6 separate regions of the Homo sapiens genome follow, and all the other regions are linked to region 1. The links are contacts of gene promoters, found by promoter capture Hi-C in human tissues and cell types (Jung and others, 2019). All regions are on one chromosome and are shown on one strand. Each heading gives the region's core, a stretch centred on a gene start or on the middle of the fragment in contact. The rest is flanking DNA. Distances are from core to core; before and after follow the strand shown. Region 1 holds the start of SAFB2 (scaffold attachment factor B2). Region 2 overlaps KDM4B (lysine demethylase 4B). Region 3 holds the start of FEM1A (fem-1 homolog A). Region 4 overlaps UHRF1 (ubiquitin like with PHD and ring finger domains 1). Region 5 holds the start of ARRDC5 (arrestin domain containing 5). Region 6 overlaps KDM4B (lysine demethylase 4B).

Evidence for each region. The method cuts DNA at HindIII sites, captures the fragments that hold promoters and counts their contacts. A contact is called where the count stands out against the background at its distance.
Region 2: a contact is called between a fragment that was not itself captured here and the fragment with the promoter of SAFB2 in region 1, in 2 of the 25 tissues and cell types used here (dorsolateral prefrontal cortex and lymphoblastoid cells).
Region 3: a contact is called between the fragment with the promoter of FEM1A here and the fragment with the promoter of SAFB2 in region 1, in 1 of the 25 tissues and cell types used here (dorsolateral prefrontal cortex).
Region 4: a fragment that was not itself captured here is called in contact with the fragment with the promoter of SAFB2 in region 1 in 1 of the 25 tissues and cell types used here (dorsolateral prefrontal cortex).
Region 5: the fragment with the promoter of ARRDC5 here is called in contact with the fragment with the promoter of SAFB2 in region 1 in 2 of the 25 tissues and cell types used here (dorsolateral prefrontal cortex and spleen).
Region 6: a fragment that was not itself captured here is called in contact with the fragment with the promoter of SAFB2 in region 1 in 1 of the 25 tissues and cell types used here (dorsolateral prefrontal cortex).

What each region holds. Positions count from the first base shown.
Region 1 is chr19:5,621,239-5,624,635 of GRCh38, reverse strand. SAFB2 (scaffold attachment factor B2) reads left to right here and starts at 1,860. Exons shown (of 21, transcript NM_014649.3): 1 at 1,860-2,106; 2 at 3,240-3,327. The coding sequence starts at 1,921. It overlaps SAFB (scaffold attachment factor B), which reads right to left and starts at 1,553. Exons shown (of 21, transcript NM_001201338.2): 1 at 1,242-1,553. The coding sequence starts at 1,430. RefSeq lists enhancers at 391-1,122, 1,123-1,855, 1,776-2,115, 2,589-3,321 and silencers at 1,096-1,145, 2,116-2,235, 3,240-3,397. The HindIII fragment of the contact is 5,746 bases long and covers 1-3,397 here.
Region 2 is chr19:4,988,517-4,991,656 of GRCh38, reverse strand. The region is part of intron 1 of KDM4B (lysine demethylase 4B); the gene reads right to left. Among named protein-coding and RNA genes, the nearest start is that of KDM4B, 21 kb to the right of the region's middle. RefSeq lists enhancers at 888-1,387, 1,388-1,889, 2,106-2,610, 2,611-3,116. The HindIII fragment of the contact is 6,577 bases long and covers 1-3,140 here.
Region 3 is chr19:4,790,256-4,793,560 of GRCh38, reverse strand. It overlaps FEM1A (fem-1 homolog A), which reads right to left and starts at 1,827. Exons shown (of 1, transcript NM_018708.3): 1 at 1-1,827. The coding sequence starts at 1,706. LOC124904620 (a long non-coding RNA gene) reads left to right here and starts at 2,269. Exons shown (of 2, transcript XR_007067103.1): 1 at 2,269-2,363. RefSeq lists enhancers at 203-859, 1,147-1,206, 860-1,516, 1,737-2,006, 1,517-2,174. The HindIII fragment of the contact is 32,697 bases long and covers 1-3,305 here.
Region 4 is chr19:4,938,912-4,942,117 of GRCh38, reverse strand. It overlaps UHRF1 (ubiquitin like with PHD and ring finger domains 1), which reads right to left. Exons shown (of 17, transcript NM_001048201.3): 6 at 490-590; 7 at 187-373. Among named protein-coding and RNA genes, the nearest start is that of MIR4747, 7.8 kb to the right of the region's middle. The HindIII fragment of the contact is 9,189 bases long and covers 1-3,206 here.
Region 5 is chr19:4,901,558-4,904,829 of GRCh38, reverse strand. ARRDC5 (arrestin domain containing 5) reads left to right here and starts at 1,934. Exons shown (of 3, transcript NM_001080523.3): 1 at 1,934-2,257. The coding sequence starts at 2,005. It also overlaps a transcript of UHRF1 not described here. The HindIII fragment of the contact is 23,961 bases long and covers 1-3,272 here.
Region 6 is chr19:5,044,710-5,047,855 of GRCh38, reverse strand. It overlaps KDM4B (lysine demethylase 4B), which reads right to left. Exons shown (of 23, transcript NM_015015.3): 6 at 187-380. Among named protein-coding and RNA genes, the nearest start is that of KDM4B, 77 kb to the right of the region's middle. RefSeq lists an enhancer at 439-1,242. The HindIII fragment of the contact is 4,426 bases long and covers 1-3,146 here.

The DNA of each region.
Region 1 (3,397 bases), core at 611-3,110:
TTCCGGAGTCAGGATGGTGGGATGTGTCAACAGCCCCACTGCCTGCAGGGGCTGGGGGGTGGGCGGCCAGGCGGAGCAACTACAGGGGAGAGGTCCCAGAGTAGCCAGGTGGAAAAAAGGCAGAGAAAAAAAGCTACAGGAATAAGGAAACCGCAGGTGGCTAACCTTTACTTGCCTCTCTGCTTTTCCTAGGGATCCCTTTGAATCCCCCAAGGGAGGCGTTAGAGCCCCCGATCTGCAAATGAGGACTCGTGGTGGCACAGAGAGGAAAAGCGAATCGTGATGGCAACCACACACCGAGTGTTTACATGCGCCAGGCAGCACGCCAAGCCTGCTCCACGCAAACTTATTTAATCCCCAAATCAAAGTCCTATTGCTTTTTTGCTTCTTACAGGAGAAAAAAAAAAAAAAAGAATAGAAAAGAGGACTCAGAAGGGGTTCAAGGTCTCCTATGCCCAAGATCAGGCCACCGAGAGCTGGCAGGGTCCCCAAGTCCAGAGAGACTGACGGAGCTGGGGGAGCCCAGGCTCTGCCCGCCTCCCGGGCAGTTCTGAGGCTGGTTTTAAAGTCCACCCGGGGTCTCCCCTCATTTCACATTTCTGATCACTACCGTCAACACCACTTTTCCTTCCTGCCACGTTACTTCACCGAGCGAGTACCGGCAAACCGTGAAAACTGGATTGTGGTGGGTTTTTTTCTATTTTTCCCTTTGAGTATGTCCTACGGGTGTTTCCTTTGTAAATCAGCCCCGATTCAGGCTGGTCGGTCCCCTGTGGGTCACAAAGCATCTTCCCTGGGGAAACCAAGCAGCCGAATCAGGAATCCCAGGGCCTGGGTTCAAATCCCGACGCTGCCCGTCCTCGGCCGTGTGACCTTGGCCGAGTCCCTTCCCCTCGCCTGGGAAGTGAGGGTTTCAGGGTCTCCCCTCCAGGTACGGAGGAGGGGACGAGACGAGGGGAGAACCCTCCTCTCAGTGGACGATGTCACCCGTCACCGTTTCTCCTGCACGCGTGCCGTTTTTGTGGTTCTCCTGGCCCCATTGCGGCGTTAGGATTTGAACCCAGGCCCAGCCGGCCAAGGAACTCTCTCCGGGGCCTCGGAGGAGCCGGGGGACGCGAGAGCGCCAGGTCCGGCGAGGCCGCGAACGCGGCCGGGGGCGGACGCCAGGGCCCGCGAGCCACCGTCGCGGCCAAGAGGACCCCAGACCCACCCTGTGCCCGCCCTCGGGGCCCCAAATCCACCTTCTTCAGCCGCTCCATCAAAACGCTCTTGTTGCCGCTCGAGTCCACATTCCGTTTCCTCAGCTCCGCCCGCAGATCGATCACTCGCAGGTCGCTGAGGCGCCGCGTCCCGGTCTCTGACGAGGCGGAGCTCAGAGCCGCCGCGCCCGCCGCTCCAGAATCACCTAGGCCTGACAGAGTCTCCGCCATTCCAGGGACCCTGGCTCCGCCGCCCACTTTCCACAGAACCGGGCCGGTTTTATCAGGCTCCTAGCACAAAATGGCGCCGCCTGCGAGGGAACCGCTCCAGTCGCCCCAGCGCGCCTCGCTTCTGCGCAGGCGCACCAAGCGTAGGTTCTAGTATCCCGGTTGCAACTGCACATGCGCAGTGAGAACAACGCGGGGATGTGCGCAGACGCGTTGCGTCTCGTCAGCCTCCCGCCGGGAACTGCCGGGACGCATGCGAGCTGCAGATTCAGCGCTTGCGCGTTGTGCCGGGGAACCCGCGGTTGGTGGACGCGCGAGCGTCCTTGCTGCTAAGTACGCTAGTGGGGGCGGTGCGCGTGCGCGTGCGCGGCCGCAAAGCGGGGCGGGAGGAAACGAGTGCGTTTTCCTCTTAGGCGGCGCCATTTTGTGTTCAGAGCCGCTATAGCTGCCGGCGGTGTGCGACTGAGTCGGTGGCGAAGACGGGAACGCGACGATGGCGGAGACTCTGCCCGGGTCGGGCGACTCGGGCCCTGGCACGGCTTCTCTCGGCCCGGGCGTTGCGGAGACTGGGACGAGGCGGCTCAGCGAGCTGCGGGTGATCGATCTGCGGGCGGAGCTGAAGAAGCGGAACCTGGACACGGGCGGCAACAAGAGCGTCCTGATGGAGCGGCTCAAGAAGGTGAGGCGGCGCGGGGCTCGGGGGTGGCGCAGGAGGCCCGGGCACGCCCCCGCCTGCACCTGTCACCGCGGCTCCCGGACCCGGGGCGCCCTGGGTTCGCCCCGCGTCTTGGCCGACCCCGGTTCGAGGTGTCGGGCACCCAGGGGGCCGGCTGTGTGACCTTGGCCCGTCACCGCTCCTCTCTGTGCCTCCCTTCCTATCCTCTTTCCACCTTTTCTCCTCAAGCGCGCTCAGCGTGCGGTCTTCTCCGCTACCAGGGTGGCCCCGGGACCCCTCCTGGGGCTCCCGATCGAGCCTTGGCTCTGTGACCTTGGGCAGGTGCCTTTCTCTCTGTGCCTCAGTTTCCTCCTCCGGAGAATGGGTGTCTGGCGGACTCCAGAGCATTTACAGGAAAGGGGGCGGTGCTTGTTCTTGCCCCAGGGCTTTGGCCTTTACGAAGCTGTCCACCCGGGTCCCCCAGATCTTCTCGTGGCCGGCCCCTTGTTGTCATTTTGGGTCTGCCTGAGACATCACCTTCCTGAGCGCCCTTCCTAATGCGCTGCCCCACCTCCTTGCCAGCTCATCCTGCGTTTGTGTCGCACCTCGCTGAAAGCAGGGGCTAAATGCAAAATATTAAGGGGTTGGGAATTGTCTGTTTCCGCAACTGGAACAAACAACTTGAGCATAGGGAGGGAGCTTGTGGGTACCCAGTCCTGGACCCGGCAGGTGGCAGGCACTGAGGGACCTGTTGAATCTCCCCAGGCTGGCTGCTGTTCCTCCTCACCAGCGGTGGCCAGCCCTTCACCGAGGCCGGGCCAAGTGCAGCCTCTCTGTTCTAATTTGTCCCATCATATAACTTTAAAGTCGAAGGTTTGGCATTGTCGAGTTGAGTTGCCATTTTGGAACTGGTCCTTGACCCCAATTCTGGAGCTCCTGCTCACAGCCTCCCTCTCCTTTGTCATTTGGACCCAGAGAGACCCAAGTTGTGCGGGGTTCCTCCTCCGCCTTTTGGGCTTGCGGCCCAGATAGCTGACCCGGAGTTGCTCTTTGCAAGGACGGGTTTGCCTTTGTTTCATGGGAGGTTGTTACTTGTAAGGAACAGTGTGTGCCCTGCAGCTCTTAATGATGTTGTAAAACTCATCTCTCCCTAATAGGCGGTTAAAGAAGAGGGGCAAGATCCTGATGAAATTGGCATCGAGTTAGAAGCCACCAGCAAGAAGTCAGCCAAGAGATGTGTTAAAGGTATTGTACATATGCTGCTTGGGGCTTGAGTGTTCAGAGAATTTAGAGAAATGGTGTGTAGTGTGCTCTT
Region 2 (3,140 bases), core at 214-2,713, 630 kb after region 1:
ACCAAAAGAATGAGCCAGTGCTAACACTGAGGACGCCTGAGGAAGGTCTGAAGCCACAGTGTCCTGTGTCAATTTCCTAGTTTTAACGGGACACTAAAGTTATGTAAAATGTTACCACTGGAGACAGCAGGGTGAAGCCTAGGGAAATCTCTTTATTATTTTTGCAACACCTTGGCAGTCTATAATTCATTCTTATTTTTGCTTTTGTAGCGACAGGGTCTCACTGTGTTGCCCAGGCTGGTCTCGAACTACTGGACTCAAGTGATCCTCCCACCTCTGCCTCCCAAAGTGCCTGGATGACAGGTGTGAGCCACCACACCCAGCCTCTGTAATTCTTTAAAAATTAAAAGTTAACAAAAATAATATGAGGGCTATTTCACCACAGATGGGGGTAGGGCAGGGGGGGTTGCCATGGGTTGATGGTTTTGGGGCTGGGTGAGGGGCCTGGGGGGCTCGTTATTCCATGTTGTCTACCTTTCTGTGTAGTCAAATTCTCCATAACAGTGTTTTTATTTTTATTTTTTGCTTTACTATTTTTTGAGACCGAGTCTCACTCTGTCGCCCAGGCAGGAGTGCAGCGGCACAATCTCAGCTCACTGCATCCTCCGCCTCCTGGGTTCAAGCAATTCTCCTGTCCCCTCCCTAGTAGCTGGGACTACAGGCGCCCGCCATCACGCCCAGCTAATTTTTGTATTTTTAGTAAAGACGAGGTTTCACCATATTGGTCAGGCTGGTCTCGAACTCCTGATCTCAGGTGGTCCGCCCACCTCAGACTCCCAAAGTGCTGGGATTATAGGCGTGAGCCATCATACCCGGCCCATAATAAAGTTTTTTAAAAAAAATAATAAAGGGAACCAACACAAGAATAGCACTAAGAAGGGCCTTATCCATCCGGGTTTATAAATATCCTTCAAAATGCACAGTGTTAGAATTACGGGCCATCTCATCGAATATTCTCCCCAAAACAAAGGCCGGAGAGGCGACCAGAACTAGTTCAGTGTTTGTACAACACAGATCTAAAAGAGACACTGGATTACCCCCAGGCCAACTTCCATAATGACAGTATTAAAACACGGCATGTGAGCTTTGCCCAATACTCATGACCTCTAGATGAGCTCTCCACGGCCCCAGGATCCCAGGCACAGCCCTCCCATCTCCTCGCCACGCTGCCTTCAGACTCAGGTAACAGATGCATCCTGCCAGAGGCCACCTGCCCCAGGCCCTCATTCCAGTACAGAAACCTGCACTGCTAAGTCAGGGCATGTCTGCCTCGGGCTCCACACAAGTGTCTCCCTTTCTAAGTCCCTGTTTTTGGGTGGAAGTGAACTGCTCTAACACCAAGGTTCTGACCCTCTTTTTGTGGGGCGGGGACAGGGTCTCACTCTTTTGCCCAGGCTGGAGCACACTGGTGCAATCGTGGCTCACTGCAGCCTCAACCTCCTGGGTTCAAGCGATCCTTCTGCCTCAGCCTCCCAAGTAGCTGGGATTACAGGTGCCACCTCCATGCTCAGCTAAGCTTTTAATTTTTTTGTAGAGACTGGGTCTCATTATGTTGCCCAGCCTGGTCTTGAACTCCTGGCCTCAAGTGATCCTCCCACCTCAGCCCCCCAAAGCGCTTGGATGACAGGCATAAGCCACCCACTGCACCTGGCCCAAACTGTTTCTAAAGGAAATTAACAAGGGATGACATGAAAAGGAAGACTGAGTCAGACACCGTGGCTCACGCCTATAATCCCAGCACTCGGAGAGGCCGAGGCGAGTGGATCACCTGAAGTCAGGAGTTCAAGACCAGCCTGGTGAACAAGGTGAAACCCTATCTCTACTAAAAATGCAAAAATTAGCCGGGCACAGTGGCGCATGCCTGTAATCACAGCTACTTAGGAGGCTGAGGCAGGAGAATCGCTTGAACCCAGAAGGCAGAGGTTGCAGTGAGCCAAAATCGTGCCCTTGCACTCCAGCCTGGACAACAAAGTGAAACTCCATCTCACAAAAAAAAAAGAAGAAGAAGAAGAAGAAGACTGGGCATGGTGGCTCATGCCTGTAATCCGAGCACTTTGGGAGGCTGAGGCAGGCGGATCACCTGAGGTCAGGAGTTCAAGACTAGCCTGGCCAACATGGTAAAACCCTGTCTCTACTAATAATACAAAAAAATTAGCTGGGCGTGGTGGTGCATGCCTGTAATCCCAGCTACTGGGGGAGGCTGAGGCAGGAGAATCGCTTGAACCTGGGAGACGGAGGTTACAGTGAGCCAAGATCGTGCCACTGCACTCCAGCCTGGGCGACAGAGCAAGACTCTGTCTCAAAACAAACAAACAAACAAAAAAAAACAAAGAAAAAGAAACAGAAACAGAAAAAAGAAAGGAAGACTGGCAGACACAGCCAACAGCACGTGTGAACACGGCCCCCCTGCCCCACCATCCTTAGGCAAAGAACCAGCACTCTGCAAGCGGCTTCCACCCCAGGCCACAGGGCCCTTCACAGAGCACCCTGCCAAGCCCTCCACGGCAGCGACTCACCTCTACCACTTCAGCACTGTCCAGACAGCCACCCTCCCGTCCTCTCATCACAGACAAGGAAGCGGAGGCAAGGGACCGGCCCAGTGAGACTGTGAAATACATTTTGTCCTGTTTCCTGGCCTACGACTCCCCCAGATCCTCGGAATTCTCCAGTGTGCTAATGAGGTGACTAAGGGCTTGGCAGCCCCTCGGGAGCTGAGGGAATAGGGCTGCTCACTGAAAAGACCCAGGCTGGACGGGAGGGGAGGGGCATGTGGCTGAAGGCTGACTTGATCACCCAGGCCAATGCAGTGAGGTCACCCAAGCCTCTGCGAGGAAGCTGAGGTAAAACCCGGAGGACTGGGATGGAAGCTTCCCCACAGATGAATGCGTGGAGGTTCCTGGAGACGTCACAGCCCGGGGAGAGCACGGAACCCTCTGTGCCCCTTCCCACATCCCTCACCCTACACATGTCTTCATCTGCCTCCTTTGTAAAATCCTTTCTAATAAGCTGGTAAACGTAAGTAACAGCTCCCCTGAGTTTTGAGAGGTGCATTAGCAAATTAAGCTCAAAGAAGGGTTCATGAGGCCGGGCACGGTGGCTCATGCCTGTAATCCCAGCACTTTGGGAAGCCGAGGCGGGTG
Region 3 (3,305 bases), core at 578-3,077, 830 kb after region 1:
TCGAGCAGCACTTTGACCACGTGCAGGGAGGGGAATCTGCCCACGGGATAGCGGCCCACGTTTGTGGTGTCCTTGTCCACAGCCATGTGCAGAGGGGTGAAGCCGTTCTTGCCCCTGGGCGCGCACTTGAGCAGGCGGTAGACGGTCTGGTGCTTCAGGTGCTCCTGGCTGGGGGTGCACTCCACTTTCTCCAGCAGGTAGAGCAGGTGGAGGATGATGGCCAGCGCCTTGGTGAACTGGGCTGAGTCTCCGGGCTCCCTGGGCAGCTGCAGGGCCCGTTCCACTTCCCGGACCCCTTTGGTGAGAACCCCCATGAGGTCTGCAAAGCCGATCTGGGTGCCCAGGCTGCCTTTGGCGGCCCGGTCCTGAAGCACGTAGGAGAAGAGTTCCGCGAAGGAGAGGAAGCTGCTGGCGGTCATGGGGCTCAGAGGCTCCAGGTTGCTCTGTTGCATGTCCAGGGCGTACTTCCACAAGCGGATGCAGCGCTCGAAATTGCCCGAGTCGGCGTACACGGCACCCCTGTAACGGATGTAATAGGAAGTGTCCGGGTGCGAGGGACCGAGGATGCGCTCCCGGATCAACAGGGCCTGCATGCGCATCTCATCCGGGTCGGTGATCAGCGCCTCCAGCTCCTCGGTGGTGTTGACCTCCCTGGAATAGTCATAGGCCAGGACCAGCTGTGGGGGCTCCGGTTTGGGCAGGTACTCGCCCCCCTGGTGACGCAGCTCCATGGCCCGCCTCCAGTGTTTAAGGGCCCCAAGCAGATCTCGTTTCTTATCCACATACGTAGCTCCCAGCAATTCCAAGGCTTCCACGGCAGCTTCCCGGCTGGTGGGACAGCAGCTTTCGTAAGATTCCCCGTTCAGTGGTTCCTCTGGGGAGGAGCTGCAGCACGGAGCCCCCTGAGGCTGCGCACACCCCTGGCTGGTGGAGGGGTCTTCTTGGGGCAGCCCAGGCTGAGCCTCTCCCCCTGCGACCTGCTCCTGGCCGGGCTGCTCCTGGATGAGGTACTCCACGATGTTGGTGTGGCCCGTCACGCTGGCCGCGAGCAGCGGGGTCATGCCGTAGCCGTCACGTTCCATGCGGGCCTTGCACCCCAGCAGCAGCTGCAGGATCTCCAGGCTGCCGGACTCGGCGCAGTCATGCAGGGCCGTGTTGCCCTTGGCGCTGCGCCGGTTCACCTGGGCGCCCTGCTCCAGCAGGTAGCGGGCGATCTCACGGTGGCCCTTGTAGCACGAGATCATGAGGCACGTGTGGCCGTGCCGGTTGGCCACCTCCAGGTCGGCCTGGTGCTCGCCGACCAGGTAGCGCACCACCTCCAGGTGGCCGTCGAAGCAGGCGGCGCGGAGAGGCGTGGAGTTGGTGCGCGTGGTGCGGTTCACCGAGGCCCCGCGGCGCAGCAGGCTCCGCACCACGTCCAGGTGGCCGGCTGCGGAGGCGGCCCACAGCGGCGGCGCGCCCTCGATGGTCTCGCCATCGAAGTGCACCGAGCCACCGGCCTCCACGCTCGCGCCGCACCGGTCCACCAGGTACTCCACCACGTCCAGGTGGCCGTAGCGGGCGGCGATGAGTAGCGGCGTTCCCCCGCCGGCCACCTCGCCCGTCAGCTCGTCCAGTTCCTCCCGGCTCCGGCCGCTGAGCAGCTTCTGGAGCAGCTGCAGCTTGCCATCACGGGCGGCGTTGTACACGGCGGTGCGGAGGTCCATGGTTCGGGCCTCCGCCAGGCCATGGGCCGGCCGCCGGGGGACGGGGAGACGGAGGATCAGAGCCCGGACGGGCGGGAGGCAACCTTCACCGTCCCCCTCGCCGCCATCTTAGGGTCTCCTCGGGCGGAACAAAATGGCTGCCGCGACCCGACGGATGGCAGCACGCCGGGAAATGGAGTCCTTTGCGCGGGCCCACTCCATAGAACAGAAAAGGAATCTTGGGGGCTCAAGACTACACTTCCCCAAAGGCCACAGGACAGCCCCTGAGAGCTGTGAGCGCGCGGCATGGTGGGAATTGGCGTTCCAGTCGCAGCGCATGGCATCGGAAGCTAGCAATTTGAGGACTACAATTCCCGTCATGCAGCGTCACACGACCTAGCTTGTGGGAACCGGCGAAATTTGGTGACGTACTTCCCGTGGCTATCTCTGCGTCAGAGCGTATAGAAAAAGCAGGCGCGATACCCTTAAGGACTACATTTCCCAAAAGGGATCACGAGCGACTCTGAGCCAATCAGGACCGAGACCGAAGGCTAAAAGCGACTAGAGGGGACGCGTCTGTTTTGGGCTTGGAGCACGGGCAAGCGGCCCACCGGCAGGGGGCGCCCGGAGGAGGCCGAAAAGCTGGACGGGGCGAAAACGTTTTGAGCTGGGAGAACGGTAAAAAATGACGCGCTCACTTCTTATTCTCACATTCATATATTCATTTATTCATTTACATACATTTATGTATATTCTAGTATGTGTCAGAATTTCCTTCTTTTATTTACGTATTTATTTTTATTTATTTCTTTCAATAACTTTGTGGGGTTTTTTGGTTTTGGTTTTTGTTTTTGAGACAGCGTCTCGCTCTTGTTGCCTAGGCTGGAGGGCAATGCCGCAATCTCGGCTCACTGCAACCTCTGCCTCCCGGGTTCAAGTGATTCTCGTGCCTCAGCCTCCCGAGTAGCTGGGACTACAGACATCCACCACCACGCCCGGCTAATTTTTGTATTTTTGGTAGAGACGGGTTTCGCCATGTTGGCCAGGATGGTCTCGAACTCCTGACCTTGGGAGATCCGCCCGCCTCAGCCTCCCAAAGTGCTAGAATTACAGGCGTGAGCCACTATGCCCGGCCTGACGTGCTGACTTCAATTCCTTTGGATAAAGACCCAGAAGTGGGATTCCTGGATCACCTGGTAGTTTTATTTTTAAATTTTTCTTTGGAACTTCCATACCATTTTCTATAATGGCTATACTAATTAAAATTACCATCAGTAGTGTATAAGTGTTCTCTTCAAATCCTTGCCAACGTTTGTTACCTTTCGTCTTTTTGATGATAGCTATTCTAGCAGTTGTAAGGTGATCCATTCCCTGGCATTTTTTGACAACAATGAATTATATTATGAAAAAGAAATCTTTGGTGACCCGAATTCTTTATTTTTAAAGTTTATTCGAGGTGTAATATATATACAATAAAATGCATTTTTAATAAAGAGGACAGGTTTGGCCGGGCAAGGTGACTCACACCTGTAATCTCAGCACTTTGGGAGGCTGAGGTGGGAGGATTGCTTGAACCCAGGAATTCGAGACCAGCCTGGGAAACATAGCACATCTCTACAA
Region 4 (3,206 bases), core at 426-2,925, 680 kb after region 1:
TCTTGTGTTGCCCAGGCTGCTCTTGAACTCCTGAGCTCAAGTGATCCTCCCGCCTCGGCCTCCCAAAGCACTGGGATTGCAGGCGTGAGCCCCCGCGCCTGCCCCTCTCCTGTATCTCCTCAGTGCCCCTCTGGGGATTTGTAGGGGGCGCTCTGGTCTCCCCGCGGCGGGCAGGGCCGCACTCACCACTCGTCCTCGCTGGGAACACTGCTGAGGGGCGGGTCCAGGCAGTAGATGTGGAAGGCCATGTCGCACTCATCGCACATGAGCTGCTTGTCGGGGTCCTGCCGGCCCCCGCACAGGTGGCAGGCGCAGACCCGGCAGAGTCTGTTCACGTCGTCCTTGCAGTGCTTGCAGGACGGCCCGCTCTTCCCTGGGCACGGGGCGGCAGGGTCAGCTCCGGCGGGGCCCGGCCAAGCCAGAGACGGGACAAGAGCCCCCGCCCCGTGCCCACCGCGGAAGATGGGGAAAGGCTGGCTCAGAACTCACGTCTCATGGGGTTGTCAACCATGGGGCTCCCTTCACCCGGCCGCTCAATCTTGAAGACTTCGTCCACGAAGATGATCCGACAGTCGTTCAGAGAATCATCCCTGCAAGGAACGAGGACGCTGGAACATTCTGGCCTGCCGAGGCCCCTAAATCTACTCACAGCACTTGAACACCACGGGTTCTCGGGATGCCTGGGGCAACAGCTCAGCTACGCCCCCTAGCAATCAAAGCTGCACTCACAGAAGCAACATGAAACGGAACAGGGCGCAGTGGCTCACGCCTGTAATACCAACACTGGGAGGCCGAGGTCAGGAGTTCGAGACCAGCCTGGCCAACATGGTGAACCCCCGCCTCCACTGAAAATACAAAAATTAGCTGAGCTTGGAGAAGCGCGCATGTAATCCCAGCTACTCGGGAGGCTGAGGCAGAAGAATCACTTGAACCCGGGAGGCAGAGGTTGCAGTGAGCCAAGATCGCGCCACTGCACTCCAGCCTGGGCGACAGGGCAAGACTCAGTCTCAAAAAAAAAAAAAAAAAAAAAAACAAAACACAGAAACCAGAGTTTCATTGCAGGATGCCCTGGGAAGAATGAGTTTGAACCTTTGGCTAAGGAGCACCAAATCCACAAGAACCGACAAGCAAGACTCATAAAGGTTGGCCGGGCATGGTAGCTCAGACCTGTAATTCCAACACTTTGGGAGACCGAGGCAGGCCGATCATCTGAGGTCAGGAGTTCGAGACCAGCCTGGCCAACATGGTAAAACCCTGTCTCTACTAAAAATGCAAAAATTAGCTGGGCATGGTAGCGCGCACCTGTAATCCCAGCTACCCAGGAGGCTGAGGCAGGAGAATTGCTTGAACCCAGGAGGCAGACGCTGAAGTGAGCCAAGATCGTGCCACTGCACTCCAGCCTGGGCGACAGAGTGAGACTCCATCTCATCAAAAAAATATATAAATAAATCAAGTTGGGCACCGTGGCTCACATCTGTAATTCCAGCACTTTGGGAGGCCAAGGTGGGTGGATCACGAGGGTCAGGACTTCGAGACTAGCATGGCCAACATAGTGAAACCCCGTCTCTACTAAGAATACAAGAATTAGCTGGGCATGGTGGCCCGTGCCTGTAATCCCAGCTACTCGGGAGGCTGAGGCAGGAGAATCGCTTGAACCTGGGAAATGGAGGTTGTGGAGCTGAGATGATCACGCCACTGCACTCCAGCATGGGCGACAGAGCAAGACTCCATCTCAAAAAAAAAAAAAAAAAAAAAAAATCATAAAGGCAACGCTTGATCCAATGGCCTACATCAAAATACAAGAACTCCTGTGAGTGAAACTGATCCCCCGAGATCAATAATCCGACATCCCCATCAGCAACGTCCGAGGGAAACAGCACTTGAACACACGCTGTGTATGTAATTCTAAATTTCCTAATAAGCACGTTTGAGAGGTAAACATAGGTGGAAGTAATTGGAATATGTTCCATAGAACCCAGTGTAGACAAAAGATTATTTCAACATGGAATGAATATGAAAAAGTTATTAATGAGCTACTTTACATTCTTCTTTTGTACCAGGTCTCTGAAAGCCCATGTGTTTTTTTTTTTTTTTTTGAGACAGTCTCGCTCTGTCGCCCAGGCTGGAGTGCAGTGGCACGATCTCGGCTCACTGCAAGCTCCACCTCCCGGGTTCACGCCACTCTCCTGCCTCAGCCTCCTGAGTAGCTGGCACTATAGGCACCCGCCACCACGCCTGGCTAATTTTTTGTATTTTTAGTAGAGACGGGGTTTCACCGTGTTTGCCAGGATGGTCTCGATCTCCTGACCTTGTGATCCGCCCACCTCGGCCCCCCAAAGTACTGGGATTACAGGCATGAGCCACTGCGCCTGGCACCCATGTGTATTTTACACTCACAGTACATTCCAGTTCCTCCTGGCCACATTTCAAGCACAGCACAGGTGGCTCTTGGCTATGGGACAGTGTGGGAACACACTGACCTACCAGCTCACAGGTAGCACAGACGCACACAGCAAGTGACATCTCCTGGTCATCTCTACAGTCTGGATAGAGCCATTTGGAACTCCTGGGACAAATGACCAGGATTCCTCAACAAATTAAGTGTTAAGGAAAAGGAGGCTAAGGCAGGAGAATTGCTTCAGCCCAGGAGTTCAAGGCTGCAGTGAGCTATGATTGCACCACTGCACTCTAGCCTAGGTGAGACAGCAAACAGCAAGACTCCGTCTCAAAAAAAAAGAAAGAAAAACATATTCTAAGACTGGGTATAGTGGCTCATACCTATAATCCCAGCACCTTTTGGGAGGCTGAGGCAGGAGTATCACTTGAACTCAAAAGTTCGAGACCAATCTAGCCAGACCCCCATTGCTACCGAAAATTAAAAAAAAAAAAAAAAAAAAAATGGCCGGGTGCAGTGGCTCATGCCTGTAATCCTAGCACTTTGGGAGGCTGAGGCGGGTGGATTATCTAAGGTCAGGAGTTCAAGACCAGCCTGGCCAACATGGTGAAACCCTGTCTCTACTGAAAATACAAAAAAAAATGAGCCAGGTGCAGTGGAGCACGCCTGTAATCCCAGCTACTCGGGAGGCTAAAGCAGGAGAATCGCTTGAACCCGGGAGGTGGAGGTTGCAGGGAACCAAGATCGTGCCACTGCACTCCACCATGGGTGACAGAGCGAGACTTTGTCTCATCAAAAAACAAAAAAAAAA
Region 5 (3,272 bases), core at 685-3,184, 720 kb after region 1:
TCAGTTTCCCTTTTGCAAAATGATACATTCTCAGAGGTCATTAAGTCATTCAACAAACTTTTATTGATTCCACCCCCCACACCCACTCCTGGCTGAGCCAGATCCTGCCTGGGTCACGCAGACATTGATGGGCACAAAGTTCACTTAGACAAGGTCTCACCCTGGAGGGACTTCCCATCCAATGGGGGAGATGCAGGCATAAAGAGAAATGTCAGCCAGGCGTGGTAGCTCATGCCTGTAATCCCAGCACTTTGGGAGGCCAAGTGAGGCGGGTGGATCATGAGGTCAGGAGTTCAAGATCAGCCTGGCCAAGATGGTGAAACCCTGTCTCTACTAAAAATAACAAAAATTGGCTGGGTGCGGTGGCTCACGCCTGTAATCCCAGCACTTTGGGAGGCCAAGGTGGGCGGATCACGAGGTCAGGAGATTGAGACCATCCTGGCTAACATGATGAAACCCCGTCTCTACTAAAAATACAAAAAATTAGCCAGGCATTTGTGGCGGACGCCTGTAGTCCCAGCTACTCGGGAAGCTGAGGCAGGAGAATGGCATGAACACGGGAGGCGGAGCTTGCAGTGAGCCGAGATCGCACCACTGCACTCCAGCCTGGGTGACAAAGTGAGACTCCAATCTCAAAAAAAAAACAAAAACAAAAACAAAAAGAACAAAAATTAGCCGGGCACGGGGGCAGGTGCCTGTAACCCCCATGCCCGTAATCCCAGCTACTTGGGAGGCTGAGGCAGGAGAATCGCTTGAACCCAGGGGGCAGAGGTTGCAGTGAGCCGAGATCACGCCACTGCACTCCAGCCTGGGCAACAGAGTGAGATTCCACCTCAAAAAAAAAGAGAAATGTCAATCATGCAGGGAGTTGCTGCTTCCTGATGGTGTCGATGTTCAGATTAAGCACACACTGCCCTGATCAACTTCAGTGCGCACCAGATTTCAGGTCCTGGCCATATCTCTATGTTTTTTCCAATATAGACCAATATAAATGTAGAGTCTTTAAGATGAAAATGAGTGTGTATGCACCTGGGCACAGTGGCTCACAACTGTAATCCCAGCACTTTGGGAGGCCAAGGCAGGCGAATCATGTGAGGCCACAAGTTCGAGACCAGCCTGGCCAACATGGTGAAACCCCGTCTCTACTAAAAATACAAAAATTAGCTAGTTGCAGTGGCACTTGCCTGTAATCTCAGGTACTTGGGGGGCTGAGGTGGGAGAATCGCTGGAACCCAGGAGGCAGAGGTTGCAGTGAGCCGAGATCACACCATTGCACTCCAGTCTGGCTGACAGAGTGAGACCATCACAAAAAATAAAAATAAAATAAATAAAAATACCAAAAAAAAATTAGCAAAGCATGGTGATGGTGCATGCCTGTAATTCCAGCTACTCAGGAGGCTGAAGCAGGAGAATTGCTTGAACCCGGGAGGCAGATGTGGCAGTGAGCCGAGATCGCGCCACTACACTCCAGCCTGGGTGACAGAATGAGACTTTGTCTCAAAAAAAGAAAAAGCCCAGGTGCAGTGGCTCACGCCTGCAATCCCAGCACTTTGGGAGGCTGAGGTGGGTGGATCACGAGGTCAGGAGATCGAGACCATCCTGGCCAACACAGTGAAACTCTGTCTCTACCAAAAAATTAGCTGGGCATGCTGGCATGCACCCGTGGTCCCAGCTACTCAGGAGGCTGAGGCAGGAGAATTGCTTGAACCCATGAGGCGGAGGTTGCAGTGAGCCAAGATGGCACCCCTGCACTCCAGCCTGGGCTACAGGGTAAGACTCCATCTCAAAAAAAAAAAAAAAGAACCAGTGAGGACTACAGGTTTCCCAATCAACCACCCACCCTAAACAACAGTTTTGCCTCCCCTCCTGGCCACTGGGGTCCCCACTTCCCGGAACTCTGAGCTGAGTGATGTCATAGATGGATTACCTCACTAGGGCCAACGAACCGGGAATTTCAGGGACATGGGGGACAGAGAGGAATGTCTCTCTACCCCCCAACCCCCCATGTCTGTGGTGAAGTCGATCGAATTAGTGCTGCCCGAGGATAGAATCTACCTGGCTGGCTCCAGCATAAAAGGGCAGGTGATCTTAACCCTGAACAGCACCCTGGTGGACCCCATAGTGAAGGTGGAGCTCGTGGGAAGGGGTTACGTCGAATGGAGTGAAGAAGCCGGGGCATCCTGTGATTATAGCAGAAATGTTATTTGCAACAACAAGGCAGACTACGTGCATAAGACAAAGACATTCCCAGTGGAGGGTAAGGACGAGGCCAACAGCCACCCCTAGCCATGACAGGAACCTGGGTCTGGAAAATAAACACATCCGAGAGTCAATCAACAAAACTCTAGGGCTATCAGAAATAGGGAGTGGCCTGATTTCTCCCTAGGAGGGAGGCCATGAAGAACAATGACCATCAGATACACAAAACGCAAAAATAACAAGACATAAGGAGCTGATCGGAACCCCGATATTCAAAATGAAGGTTCAAAGTAGTCTCCTTGGAAAATGCTCAATCCAACAACTGCCTTTGAGAGGCCTCTGAGAAGTCTTATTCTTTTACAGATAAGTTTCACTCTGACAGCAAAACCCCAGGAGACAAAGTAGGCAGTCCTGCATTCATGGGGAGAGACAGTGGAGGTGGGCCAGGCACAGTGGTTCATACCTGTAATTCCAGCACTTTGAGAGGCCGAGGCAGGTGGATCACTTGAGGTCAGGAGTTTGAGACCAGCCTGGCCAATATAGCGAAACCCCATCTCTACCAAAAAATACCAAAAAATTAGCTGGGCGTGCTGGCACGTGCCTGTAATCTCAGCTACTTGGGAGGCTGAAGCAAGAGAATCACTTGAACTCGTGAAGGGGAGGTTCCAGTAAGCTGAGATCGCACCACAGCACGCCAGCCTGGGTGACGGAGCGAGATTCCCTCTCAAAAAAAGAAAGATAGTGGAGGTAGAAGAGCAAGGGAGACCTTCCAGAGAAGGAATAACTAGTCCCCAGTTCCACCAGGTCAGATCTGAAATCTGAACAAATGTCAGAGAGTCTGCTGAGTTGTCGGGGAAATTATATGTCCATTGCAAAATGTGTTTGTGGGGATATTCCCAGGTATTAAGCAGTCAAGCAGAACACGTGGCCAACACTTGGCTGAACAAAGTGTAATTTAATTTAATTTATTTCTGTATTTATTTATTTGTATCTTATTTATTTATTTATCTATTTTTTGAGACACAGTCTCGCCCTGCTTCCCAGGCTGGAGTGAAGTGGCACCATCTCGGCTC
Region 6 (3,146 bases), core at 613-3,112, 580 kb after region 1:
ACATCCCCCACCCCAAAGCTGGTGGGTGACCCCAGGCGGTCCGGAAGATCTCCAGCCGTCATAGGCCGACCTTTGCGGCCTCACCTGGTGGGGCCCCTGCCACGGCGCCCAGCCGTGTACCCGGGATTGACTCCCTCCCGAGGGGCTCTCGGTCCGGCCGGCGGCAGGGCCAGTGCAGACACTCACCAGGACTTAGGCTCCCCAAAGTGCAGGTAGTTGATGCTGTACAGGTCCATGTCCTCGGTGTGCCAGGCGAAGGTGGTCTTCCACATGCCGAAGTACAGGTAGGGCGTGTTCACGCCCTCGATGATGGTGCCGCACTCGCGCTCCACCATGTCCAGGATGGTCCGGAGGCTCCCGATGTTCCACTGGGCCACGTCCTGTGGGGCGGCAGAGCAGCGTCGGCAACCGCCCGGCCACCCCCAGAACCTGCGAGCCCTGGGGTGCAGGCTAATTCTCCCCAGAGTCCCAGGGGTCGCTGCCCATCCTCCTCCACCCCAGTATCTGCGGCCCCCCCAGGGGCCGGTCATACCCTGCAGACCAGGGGCTGGTCTTAACCTGTGTGAGATTCTTGCCCAGGCTGGAGTGCAGTGGCAGAATCATAGCTCACTGCAGCCTCAACCTCCCAGGCTCAGGTAATCCTCCAGCCTCAGTCTCCTGAGTACCTGGGACTATAGGCTATAGGCGTGAGAAACCACACCTGGCTAATTTTTACTTTTTTCTGTGTAGAGATGAAGTCTCACTCTGTTGCCCAGGCTGGTCTCGAACTCCTGGGCTCAATGGTCCCTCCCACTTTGGCCCCTCCAAGCGCTGGGGCTGCAGGCATGAGCCGCCATACCCAGCCCAGACACCTTTTCTGAAGGGCTCACCGCCAGCTTGGCCCTTCCAGGAAGGGCCCCATCGCACATGCCAGCGTGCACCAGGCAGGCAGGGCCTGTCAGATTCCACTGAGCTGCGTGCTTCCTGCTGGGTGGAGGCCTTGTTGTGAAGCCTGCAGTTTGGGAGTGCATAATTAACACGCCTCTAAGTCAATGACACGGAAGGAGAAAAACAGTCACCACTTGGGGCTAACCCAGCGATGGTACCGGAGCCAAGGCCCAGTGACAGCCCTTCCACAGCTTCTGACCGAGGAGACGAAGACAGTTTTCAGAACTAGGCAAACAAGGACGGAATCCCCACCCACCAGGCACATCTATTCTTAATGCCACAAGCAAACAAACCCCGTCCTGTCCCAAGAGCTCATAAAATACACATTAGTCACTGCAGTCCCCGGAGAGGCTCATGGCCTGCTGAGAGGCCGAGAGGAGCCCAGACACACATGAACGTGAGCTGCTCTCACAGCCTGAATCCACCCCCCACCAGCTGTTCCTGCACCTGCACGACCGGCCCTCAGACTTGGCAAGACCAGCGGTTCCTTTGCAAGGTGAGCCCTGGCAGGAGCCCAGAAGAGGTGAGGAGGGAGGCAGTGATGAGACCCAGATGGGGCAGAGGGAGGCCCCAGGCACAGGCTGAGCTGGGCGCAAATTCATCCTGGGACCACAGCAAGTCGCTTCTCTGCTGTGGGCTGTTTCCCCCGCTGTAAAAGTAGGCTAGTGCATAGGCTAGGCATGGCAAACACATGGCAAGGAAGCCCTGAAGCTTCCCCTGGCACCTGTGGCAGGTCGGCCTGGGCTGGCACAGCCTGCGTGCGGCTGCAGAGTCCCTCCCGGGTCATCACTACAGGCCAAGTGCAGGCAGTGCAGGCCAGCCAACCCAGAGGCTCTCATGCACTGGAGTCTGAGGCTGAACTTTCACTTGAAAACAATCAGGCAGGATCCGTAAGAGAAAGACAAGCCCCAGTCAGAAAGAAAATACTTGCAAGTCACAACTGATAACCAAAATACACAGCAAACTCTCAAATTTAACCAGAAGAAAACAAACAGCATGGTTAAAAAACAGAAAAAGATGGCCAGGCGCGGTAGCTCACGCCTGTAATCCCAGCACTTTGGGAGGCCAAGGCAGGTGGATCACCTGAGGTCAGGAGCTTGAGACCAGCCTGGCCAACATGACAACACCTCGTCTCTACTAAAAATACAAAAATTAGGCTGGACATGGTGGCTCATGCCTGTAAATCCCGGCACTTTGGGAGGCCAAGGCGGGCAGATCACGAAGTCAAGAGATTGAGACCATCCTGGCCAACATGGTGAAACCCCATCGCTACTAAAAATTCAAAAATTAGCTGGGCGTGGTGGTGGGCACCGTAGTTCCAGCCTGGTGACAGAGCAAGACTCCATCTCAAAAAAAAAAAAAGAAAGAAAATTAGCTGGGTGTGGTGGTGGGCGCCTGTAATGTAATCCCAGCTACTTGGGAAGCTGAGGCACAGAAATGATTGAACCCAGGAAGTGGAGGTTGCAGTGAGCCTAGATCACGCCACTGCACTCCAACCTGGGCAACAGAGCGAGACTCCATCTCAAACAACAACAACAACAACAACAAACTGGGCAAAAGACATGAAGAGAGCTCACCAAGGAAACACACAGATGGCAAACAGGCATGCAAAGGGGCCCCGCCGCGAAGGCAGCCATCGGGGGAATGCAGATTGAAATGGCAATGAGACAGCGCAACACGCCTCCCAGGGTGGCCAGGATGCACAACACCGACAACTCCAGATGGGGGCGGGGAAGCGGGGCCCTGGGAACGTTCATTCGCTGCTGCTAGGAGCACACAGTGGGACAGGTGGGCGGGAGGACAGTTTGGTGGCGTCTTAAAAAACTAAACGTCCTCTCACCACGTGGTCCAGCAACTGTACTCCTTGGTATTTACCCAAAGGAGATGAAAACTTCTGCCCACATTGACCAAACTTGGAAGGGTCCTTTAATAGGTGAATGAGCAGGCACACTGTGGTGCACCCGGACCATGGAGTATTATTCAGCGCTGAAAAGAAATGAGCTCTCAAGCCATGAAAAATGGAGCAAACTTGAACACCTATTGCTTGGTCAAAGAGGCCAATGGGAAAAGGCTACCGACTGTAGGATTCCAGCTCACGGCATTCTGGAAAAGGCTGAGCTATGGAGACAGTGAGACATCAGTGGTTGCCTGGGGCGCAGGAGAGGGATGGGGGAGAGGGAGGAATGACGAGGGGGAGCTCAGGGGATCATTAGAGTGGT